2 separate regions of the Homo sapiens genome follow, and region 1 is linked to region 2. The links are contacts of gene promoters, found by promoter capture Hi-C in human tissues and cell types (Jung and others, 2019). All regions are on one chromosome and are shown on one strand. The core of a region is centred on a gene start or on the middle of the fragment in contact, and the rest is flanking DNA. Distances in the headings are between cores, read along the strand shown. Region 1 overlaps KDM2B (lysine demethylase 2B). Region 2 holds the start of PSMD9 (proteasome 26S subunit, non-ATPase 9).

Region 1 (5,131 bases), core at 1,972-4,471, 330 kb after region 2:
TCCCGGCACACTAAGGAAACTCTTCTTAGAACCAAGCCTCCCGACCTTCTGCTCCTAAGACGGTCACTTGGCCTGCCCAGGCCTCTTGCCTATACGCTTCCCCCTATGACTTCAGCCCCAGCTGCTCCCCACAGCCCTTCCCTGGTCTGAGGCAGGCATACAGCTGAGTTAAGCCAGTCCCTTAAGTCCTGACTCCCTTGCATCAGAGGGCGGAGCAGGCTGAGGTGTAGTCAGCGGGGACCCTGGCTTGGCCCTGGCCTGACTGGGAGTCTTGAACACTGGTCCCAAGTGGCATCTGTGATGTGAAAAGCTGCAAAGTAGCGGAGGCCAAGAGGGTGCCTAGGAGGTGCTGGGGAGGGCGGCGATGGCAGTGGGAGGCATGGTTATTCCTCAGAAAAGGAGGCTGGGTGCCATGGTTCATGCCTGTAATCCCAGCACTTTCAGAGGCTGAGGTGGGCAAATCACTTGAGGTCAGGAATTCGAGACCATCCTGGCCAACATGGCTAAACCCCATCTCTACTAAAAATACAAAAATTAGGCTGGGCGCAGTGTCTCACGCCTGTAATCCCAGCACTTTGGGAGGCCGAGGCGGGCAAATCACTTGACGTCAGGAGTTTGAGACCATCTTGGCCAACATGAGGAAACCCCGTCTCTACAAAAAATACAAAAATTAGCTGGGGCATGGTGGCATGCGCCTGTAGTCCCAGCTACTTGGGAGGCTGAGGCAGGAAAATCGCTTGAACCCAAGAGGCGGAGGCTGCAGTGAGCCGAGATCGCACCACTGTACTCTAGCCTGGGCAACAGAGTGAGACTCCGTCTCAAAAAAAAAAAAAAAAGAAAAAGAAAAGGAAACACAGGCCTTCTCCACACATGTCTGTCCTTCTGTGTTGAGCCGTGCTGTCCCAGGGCTGCTCAGGACCTACCAGGTGATTCCAGGTGGGGCTTCATGGCTTCATCTTTTTTGTTACACGTGCCCACCCAGAACCACCCCCAGGTCAGGTCTTTAGTTCACCTGCCATTTGTCTGTGAAGTCGTGTGTCAGATGCCACACAGAACATAAAAGTAAATAACAGCACTCATTCCTCATGCGACAAAGAGTGAGCTCCTAGCCTGCACCAGTCTCTGTTCTAGAAATCTGGACTAGAGTAGCGATCAAGACAGGCAAGCCTCCTGCCCTCACGGCACTCACAGAGCAGCAGGGTGGAAAGACAAGAAACAAGTAACCAAGAAATACGGTATTTAGGATGAAGTGGTATGAGGTCATCAGTGGGTGACACCTTTCTGTTTGTGAAGCTACTAGGTAAACTGCGATTTCGTTATAGAAGGTGTTGGCCCCGTGATCCGCTTATACCAGGCTCTGGGAGGGAGGCAAGGGGAGGGACCAGCCCTCCCCTGTGTAAATATGTCACATTTATGGAGCCATGTAGGTATACCCAGTCATTCTCTCACTAACCCTTCGATTAGTTTCCTAGGCTGTCATAACAAAGTACCACAAAGTGAGTGGCTTAAAACCACAGAAGTTTATTCTCTCACACTTCTGCAGGCTAGAAGTCCAAAATTAAGGGTGTCTGTAGGGCTACATTTCCCCCTGAAGTCTCTAGGGGCAGGTCCTTCCTTGCCTTCTCTGGCTTCTGGTGGTGGCTGGCAGTGCTTAGTGCGCCTTGGCTTGTAGCTGCGTCACTCTGATCTCTGCCTCCGTCTTCACGTGGCTGTCTTCCTTCTGTGTGTCTGTGTCCACATTTCCTTTGTCATGGCTGGGCACGGTGGCTCACGCCTGTAATCCCAGCACTTTGGGAGGCTGAGGTGGGTGGATCACCTGAGGTCAGGAGTTCAAGACCAGCCTGGGCAAAATGGTGAAACCCCGTCTCTACTAAAAATACAAAAAAATTAGCCGGAAGTGGTGGTAGGCGCCTGTAATCCCAGCTAATCGGGAGGTTGAGGCAGGAGAATCGCTTGAACCCAGGAGGCAGAGGTTGCAATGAGCTGAGATTGTACCACTGAACTCCATCCTGGGGAACAGAGTGAGACTCTGTCTCAAAAAAAAAAAAAAAAAAAAAAAATTCTCTTGTCTTATTAGGCCTACCCTAATCCCATATGATCTCATTCTAGCTTGATCACGTCAGCAAAGACCCTGTATCACAGATATTAGGGACTGAACATATATTTTGGGGGAGTGCAGTTCAACTCACAGTACCCCTTGAGGTACGTGGGTAGCCAAAACCGTTAGCAAATTACAGGGAACTGGGTAGGCTGAGGAGGGGAGGGTGCTGATTTCTGGTTAGTGCCTTCCCTGCGTCTACTGTTCGATCTGGGTCATAATCTTAGCTAATCCTACAACCTTTTTTTCTTTTTAAAATTACATTTTTATTGATTTACTGGCTTAGTTCACTTTGTGTTGCTATAAAGGAATGCCTGAGGTTGGATTTTTTTTTTTTTTTTAAGGACAGAGTCTCACTCTGTCGCCCAGGTTGGAGTGCAGTGGCACCATCTCAGCTCACTGCAACCTCCGCTTCCTGGATTCAAGTGATTCTCCTGCCTCAGCCTCCTGAGTAGCTGGGGTTACAGGTGCGCATAACCAGGCCTGGCTCAATTTTTGTATTTTTAGTAGAGACAGGGTTTCACCATGTTGTCCAGGTTAGTCTCAAACTCTTGACCTCAAGTGATCCACTTGCCTCGGCCTCCCAAAGTGCTGGGATTACAGGCTTGAGCCATGGTGCCCAGCTGGGTTGGATTATTTATAAAGAAAGGTTTATTTGATTCAGCTCTGCAGGCTGTACAGGAAGCATGGAGCCAGCATCTGCTTCTGGTGAGGACTTCAGGAAGCTTCCAGTCATGATGGAAGGGGAGGGTGAGCTGGTGTGTCACATAGCCACAGAGGGAGCAAGAGAGAGAGGAGGGAGGTGCCAAATGCTTCTAAATAATCCAGCCTGTAGCCCCAGCTATTTGGGAGGCTGAGGTAGGAGGATCGCTTGAGCCCAGGAGTTTGAGGCTACAGTGAGCCATGTTCAAGCCACTGCACTCCAGCCTAATGAGCAGAGTGAGGCTTTGTCTCAAAAAACAAAAAACAGGCCGAGTGCAGTGGCTCACCCCTGTAATCCCAGCATTTTGGGAGGCTGAGGAGGGCAGATCACAATGTCAGGAGTTCAAGACCAGCCTGGCCAACATGGTGAAACCCCATCTCTACTAAAATACAAAAAATTAGCCAGGCGTGGTGGTGCGTTCTTGTAGTCCCAGCTACTCGGGAGGCTGAGGCAGGAGGATCTCTTGAACTTGGGAGGCAGAGGTTGCAGTGAGCCGAGATCGTGCCACTGTACTCCAGTGTAGGTGAGAGAGTGAGACTCCGTCTCAAAAAAAAAACAAAAAACAAAAAAAACAAAACAAAAACCCAATTCAGTCTCATGGGAACTAATAGAGTGGGAATTCACTCTTTATGCAAGGAGGGTACCAAGGCATTCGTGAAGGATCCACCCTCACGTCCCAAACACCACACACCAATTCCTACCTCTAACATTGGAGATATTTGAGAGATATTCATGTTTCAACATGAGATTTGAGATTTGGGGGGGAAAAATATCCAAACTATATCACTTACTTATTTATATTCTTATAAAAAATTTTGGCCAGGTGTGGTGGCTCACGCCTATAATCTCAGACATTTTGGGAGGCCTAGGTGGGCAGATGACTTGAGCCCAGGAGTTTGACACCAGCCTGGGCAATATGGCGAAACCCCGTCCCTACAAAAAATACAAATATTAGCCGGGTATGGTGGCCCACGCCTGTAATCCCAGCTACTTTGGTGGTTTAGGCACAAGAATTACTTGAACCAGGGAGGTGGAGGTTGCAGTGTGCTGAGATCGTGCCACTGCACTCTAGCCTGGGAGACAGAGCGAGACTCTGTCTCAAAAGAAAAAAATAAAATTACCCCAGACTAGTTATTCTTTCTTTTTTGATACTTTGACACTTGCAAAATAAATAACATTTTCAGGGTCTTAAGGTATAATTTTGTAAATTACTATATCCTCATAACTAAATGATATGATTAAACATTATTTTAAATTGGTATCCATTTTTTATAAAATAGGATTGCTATCTACTGTTTTTTAAAATTTTTTATTTTTTAAGATAGAGTCTCACTCTGTCACCTAGGCTGGAGTGCAGTGGCACAGCCATTGCTCACTGTAGCCTCTGCCTTCCAGGCTCAAGTGATCCTCCCAAGTAGCTGGGAATACTGGTGTCTGCCAACATGCACAGATAATTTTTAAATTTTTTGTAGAGATGGGGTCTTGACATGTTATCCAGGCTGGTCTTGAACTCCTGGGCTTAAGTGATCCTCCTGCTTCAGCTTCCCAAAGTGTTGGGGTTACAGGTGTGAGTCACCACACTCAGCCTACTCTTGCATTCATCAAATATTTGAGTGCTGCATGAATCCCAGATGCAGATGTTCTTTTGTTTTTTCTGGTCCACATTTGGACTAAGACTGAAAATCATAACTTGTGGATTAATACCTGTGTGCATGTGAGAGAGGTATATATACCTGGGATTAAATGAGAGTATAAAAGTGTTAATTTAAAGTATGTTACAGGCCGGGTGCGGTGGCTCACGCCTGTAATCCCAGCACTTTGGGAGGCTGAGGCAGGTGGATCACCTGAGGTCAGGAGTTCTAGACCAGCCTGGACAACATGGTAAAACCCCGTCTCTACTGAAAATACAAAAATTAGCTGGGCGTGGTGGCAGGCGCCTGTAATCCCAGCTACTCGGGGGGCTGAGGCAGGAGAATCGCTTGAACCTGGGAGGCAGAGGTTGCAGTGAGCCGAGATCGCGCCATCGCCATCGCACTCCAGCCTGGGGGACAAAAGAGAGACTTTGTCTCAAAAAAAAAAAAAAGTATGTTACAAAGGGCAAGTATCATGATATATACAAGGTATACATTTATTTGGAAACACTCCCAGATTACTTGCCATCTCTGAGACTCTCCATTTTAAAAAAGTAAAAAGTTTCATTGAAATATAAGTCACAGACCATACAATTCATTTCACCCCACTTTTTTTTTTTTTGAGACAGGATCTGGCTCTGTTGCCCAAGCTGGAGTGCAGTGGCACGATCATGGCTCACTGGAGCCTCAACCTCCTGA
Region 2 (4,659 bases), core at 499-2,998:
CAAGATGGTGCCACTGAACTCCAGCCTGGGCAACAGAGCGAGACCCTGTCTCAATAATAATAATAACAATAATAATACATTTATATAAGATTAAAAGTAGATCTATTTAAATAAAAATATCAAAGGAATAACACAAGTGGTATATGCATATAGTATACTGCATGTGGTAGAAAGTAAACTAAAGTTTGAGAAATTGCTGGTAATTTGCTTGAAAGCACAGGTTCTGAATGTAACAGACCTGAAGTCTGAATCCCACTTTGAGCATATAGTCAGCACCCAGTAAAATGGTTCTCTGGCCCTCCGTATGAAACTTCATCTTATGGCCGGACGCGGTGGCTCACGCCTGTAATCCCAGCACTTGGGGAGGCCAAGGTGGGCGGATCACCTGAGGTCAGGAATCCAACACCGGCCTGACCAACATGGTGAAACCCTGCTTTTACTTAAAATAAAAAATTAGCCTGGCGTACTGGCGCTCGCCTGTAATCCCTACTACTCGGGAGGCTGAGGCAGGAGAATCACTTGAACCCAGGAGGCAGAGGCTGCAGTGAGCCGAGATTGAGCCACTGCACTCCAGCCTGGGTGACAAAGCAAGACTCCGTCTCAGACAAAAAAAAAAGAAACTTCATCTTACATCACCTAAAATGCATTCCATCCCACCCTACTTGGGCATAATTAATTGCATCTTCCTCTGCAAACTGATCTGTGATTTTACACTAGATGGCATAAGAAAACCTGCATCAGCTTTTGAGCCAGACCCACCACTGCCACTTCCGAACTACATGACCTTAGATAGGCGTTTGCCCCACTCTGGGCCTCAGTTTCCTCCTTATGCAATAAGGATGATGAGCCTTATTTGTAACTCAAAGTTCGGTCCTTAGACCACTAGCATCAGCATTGCTGGGAGTTTGCTACAAATGCAGAATCTGCTCCCTTGCCTCAAACAAAATCTGCATTTTAATAAGATCCCCAGGTAATTCATATACACACTGAAGTTTAAGAATTCACGATACAATCAGCAAATGCCGGGTGCAGTAGCTCACGCCTGTAATCCCAGCACTTTGAAAGGCCGAGGTGGAAGGATCGCTTGAGGCCATGAGTTCGATACCAACCTGGGCAACACAGTGAGACTCTGTCTTTACAAAAAGTACAAAATTAAGATAAGGCAGTCAGCGAGGCACATGACAGCTGTTTAATCACCAAGTAACACCTGTTTCCCCCTCCCTAAAATGGAAAGAGTAACAGCATCCACCTCAAAGGGTTGTTGCAAAGATTAAATTAACTCAACAATGCACAGCACTTAAACCAGCGCCTAGCACACAGCAGGGCTCCACAAACTCTTGCTGGATATCAATATGGCTAACTCTTCAGTTGCTAAAGTTCTTTGCCTGCCTTCTTGTGCCGACAGAGGCCGCACTTGCGGCGCCTTGGGCCTCCCAGGGAGATCCGTTGCGGAGCGCCCAAACTGAGGCCGCCCTGGCATCCCAGTACCCCAGGGACTCCGGGCCGGGTTAGGCGACTTGGGGCGCCCCGAACCCACACTCACGCTTTCCAGCACGTCATAGTTGGCCTTGATCTGCGCTTCTATCTCCTCCTTGCGCCGCATCAGCTCCTGGACGTCGCTGACAGTCACGACGCCGGCCTGCGAGGAGCCTCCGCTCTGCCTCGCTTCCTCGTCGGACATCGTGAACCCCGGGCCGCGACTCCAGAGACCCGGCTCCCGGGCTAGGGACGACGCCCCAGTCGACCGTAACTACGGCTCCGCCCATGCGCCAAAACACCACAGCCGTCCGCGAACGCGAGAACAGTCAAGGGGCGGGGCTTGGGATGGGGCTTAGGGCGGAGCTGGGTCACCGGAAGCCGCGCCCTGCCGGAACACGTGCGCCTGTGGTGACCCGGCAGGAGTAGCGTCGGAAGCAATGGATCCCCACGCAATTGCACACCAACGCTAGGGGATGATCTCGCCCCAGCTGACTCATTTTCTCATTCGTGCAGCAGACATTTATTGAGCGCCTACTGTATGGATGGATACTGTACGCCAGAGAACCGCTGCGTGGCGCTCCAATTCAGTTCTTCACATCCACACAGCCCTGGAGGATTTACAAAATACATTAAGGTTCCTTATCCCTCACTTTACAGATCCGATATGCCTGAGTACACACCCCGTATCTTGCCACTTAACGGCAATCTGTGTGACCCTAGGTCACTACTTGGCTTCTCTGGGCCTCAGTTTCCTCATCTGTAAAATGGGGCAGTAATTGATAGCAATCTATCTCATAGAGCTGTCCTTCTGCTAACAAATATTCATGGAATGATTCCTATGAGCCATATACTGTTGAAGGTGCTGGATGTTCCTGTTAAGGCCTCTAAAAATCGTAGTGATAATAATAACGGTAACAGTGTTTATTTATTGATACTTATAATGTGCCAGACGCTGTTCTAAATGCCTTACATATATTAATTCAACAACCTCATGAAGCTAGATTATTACATCCCAATTTGACAGCTGAGAAAACCGTCTCAATAACCAATTTACCCAACTAGCAAAATGTGAGGCCAAAATTCCAACCCAGCTTACCTAAACAATCAACTTTGATATCTGACCATGTGCCTCTAATATTTTGTCTTGAAAAGGGCTCAGCGGTCATCTGTGTAGTATTCAAACATGTTTGCCCTGAATCTAATCATTGGAAAACAGACATATCCAAAAGAAGGGACATACTTCAAAACAACTGGCCTGAAAACTTCAAAAAAAGTCAATGTTGTGAAATACACATGGGGAATAAGGGGTGGGGGACAGAGAAAGGAGGCGGATATGCAATTGCCTAGATTTAAGAACACTAAAGATGTGCATCAACTAAATGCAATGGGCCAGGTGTGGTGGCTCATGCCTATAATCCCAGCACTTTGGGAGGCTGTGGCAAGCAGATCATTTGAGGTCAGGAGTTTGAGACTAGCCTCGCCAACATGGTGAAACCCTGTCTCTACCAAAAATATAAAATATTAGCCGGGTGTGGTGGCACACACCTGTAATCCCAGGTACTCAGGAGGCTGAGGTCTCGAACCCCTGGCCTCAAGTGATCCAGCCCAGCTCGGCCTTTCAAAGTGCTGGGATTACAGGAGTGAGCTACCGCACCCCTCAAAAATAAACTAACATTTCTAACATTATCGAGAGAGAGAGAGAGAGAAATACAGGTGCAGTGGCTCATACCTGTAGTCCCATTATGCTGGGAGATCAAGGCAGGAGGATCCCTTAGGTCCAGGAGTTTGAGACTAGCCTGGGCAACATAGCAAGACCTCCATCTCTACAAAAAAAAAAAAATAATAATTAATTAGCAGAGGACCAGGTGTGGTGATTCACACCTGTAATCCCAGCACTTTGGGAGGCTGAGGTGGGTGGATCACTTGAGGTCAGGAGTTCAAGACCAGCCTGGCCAACATGGTGAAACACCGTCTCTACTAAAAATACAAAAGTTACCAAGGCACAGTGCCACACACTTGTAATCCCAGCTACCTGGGAGGCTGACGCAGGAGAATCGCTTGAACCGGGGAGGCAGAGGTTGCAATGAGCTGAGATCATGTCACTGCACTCCAGCCTGAGTGACCGAGTGAGACTCTGTCTCAAATAAATAAATAAATAATAAAGTTAAAAAGGGAGGAAGAGAGAAATAATGACTAAATGCAATACATGATCCTTACTTGAATTATTTAATGAGAAACAGCAGCTTTACAAGACTTATTGGGCCAACTGGTGAAATCTAAATATGAACTTTATATTAAATTATAGTATATCAGTGTTAAATTTCCTCAGTCAGATAATGGTGTTGCAATTATATGAGAGAATCACTTTTATCTTTATTGGAACGAGATAAATGCTCAATTATTTAGATGTGTAGTGTCATGATTTCTGCTACTAACTTGCAAGTGGTCCGAAGAAAGTGATACAAGGGGAGAAAGAGGCAAAATGTAACAATTAGCAAATCCACGTGAAGAGTATAAGCATGTTCAAGAAAACTGTTTTGTAAGCTGCTTATGGCTATAATCCTAGCATTTTGGGAGGCCAGGGCAGGTGGCTCACTGCCTGAGCGGCAGAGCAAGACTCCGTCTCAAAAAAAAAAAAAAAAAAAAAACTAGGCCAGGCGCGGTGGCTCACGCCTGTAATCCCAGCACTTTGGGAGGCCAAGCCAGGTGGATCATGAGGTTAGGAGATCGAGACCATCCTGGCTAACACGGTGAAACTCCATCTCTACTAAAAATACAAAAATTTAGCCGGGCATGGTGGCACGTGCCTGTAGTCCCAGCTACTCAGGAGGCTGAGGCAGGAGAATGGCATGAACCTGGGAGACAGAGCTTGCAGTGAGCAGAGATCGTGCCACTGCACTCCAGCCCGGGCGAGAGAGTGAGACCCCATCTCAAAAAAAAAAAAAAAAACTAAATGCAATATGTGGCCAGGTGCGGTGGCTTACGCCTGTTATCTCAGCATTTTGGGAGACCGAGGCGGCTGGATCACCTGAGGTCAGGAGTTCAAGACCAGCCTGGCCAACATGCTGAAACCTTGTCCCTACTAAAAATACAAAAATTATCCGGGCGTGGTGGCTCTGTTGCCCAGGCTGGAGTGCAGTGGCGAGATCTCGGCTCACTGCAACGTCCACCTCCCTGGTT

The links. The method cuts DNA at HindIII sites, captures the fragments that hold promoters and counts their contacts. A contact is called where the count stands out against the background at its distance.
Region 1: a contact is called between a fragment that was not itself captured here and the fragment with the promoter of PSMD9 in region 2, in 1 of the 25 tissues and cell types used here (liver).

The regions. Positions count from the first base shown.
Region 1 is chr12:121,554,161-121,559,291 of GRCh38, reverse strand. The region is part of intron 4 of KDM2B (lysine demethylase 2B); the gene reads left to right. Among named protein-coding and RNA genes, the nearest start is that of KDM2B-DT, 24 kb to the left of the region's middle. The HindIII fragment of the contact is 4,739 bases long and covers 852-5,131 here.
Region 2 is chr12:121,885,879-121,890,537 of GRCh38, reverse strand. It overlaps PSMD9 (proteasome 26S subunit, non-ATPase 9), which reads right to left and starts at 1,748. Exons shown (of 6, transcript NM_002813.7): 1 at 1,544-1,748. The coding sequence starts at 1,681. It also overlaps a transcript of HPD not described here. RefSeq lists enhancers at 864-1,477, 1,445-1,844, 1,478-2,091. The HindIII fragment of the contact is 23,703 bases long and covers 1-4,659 here.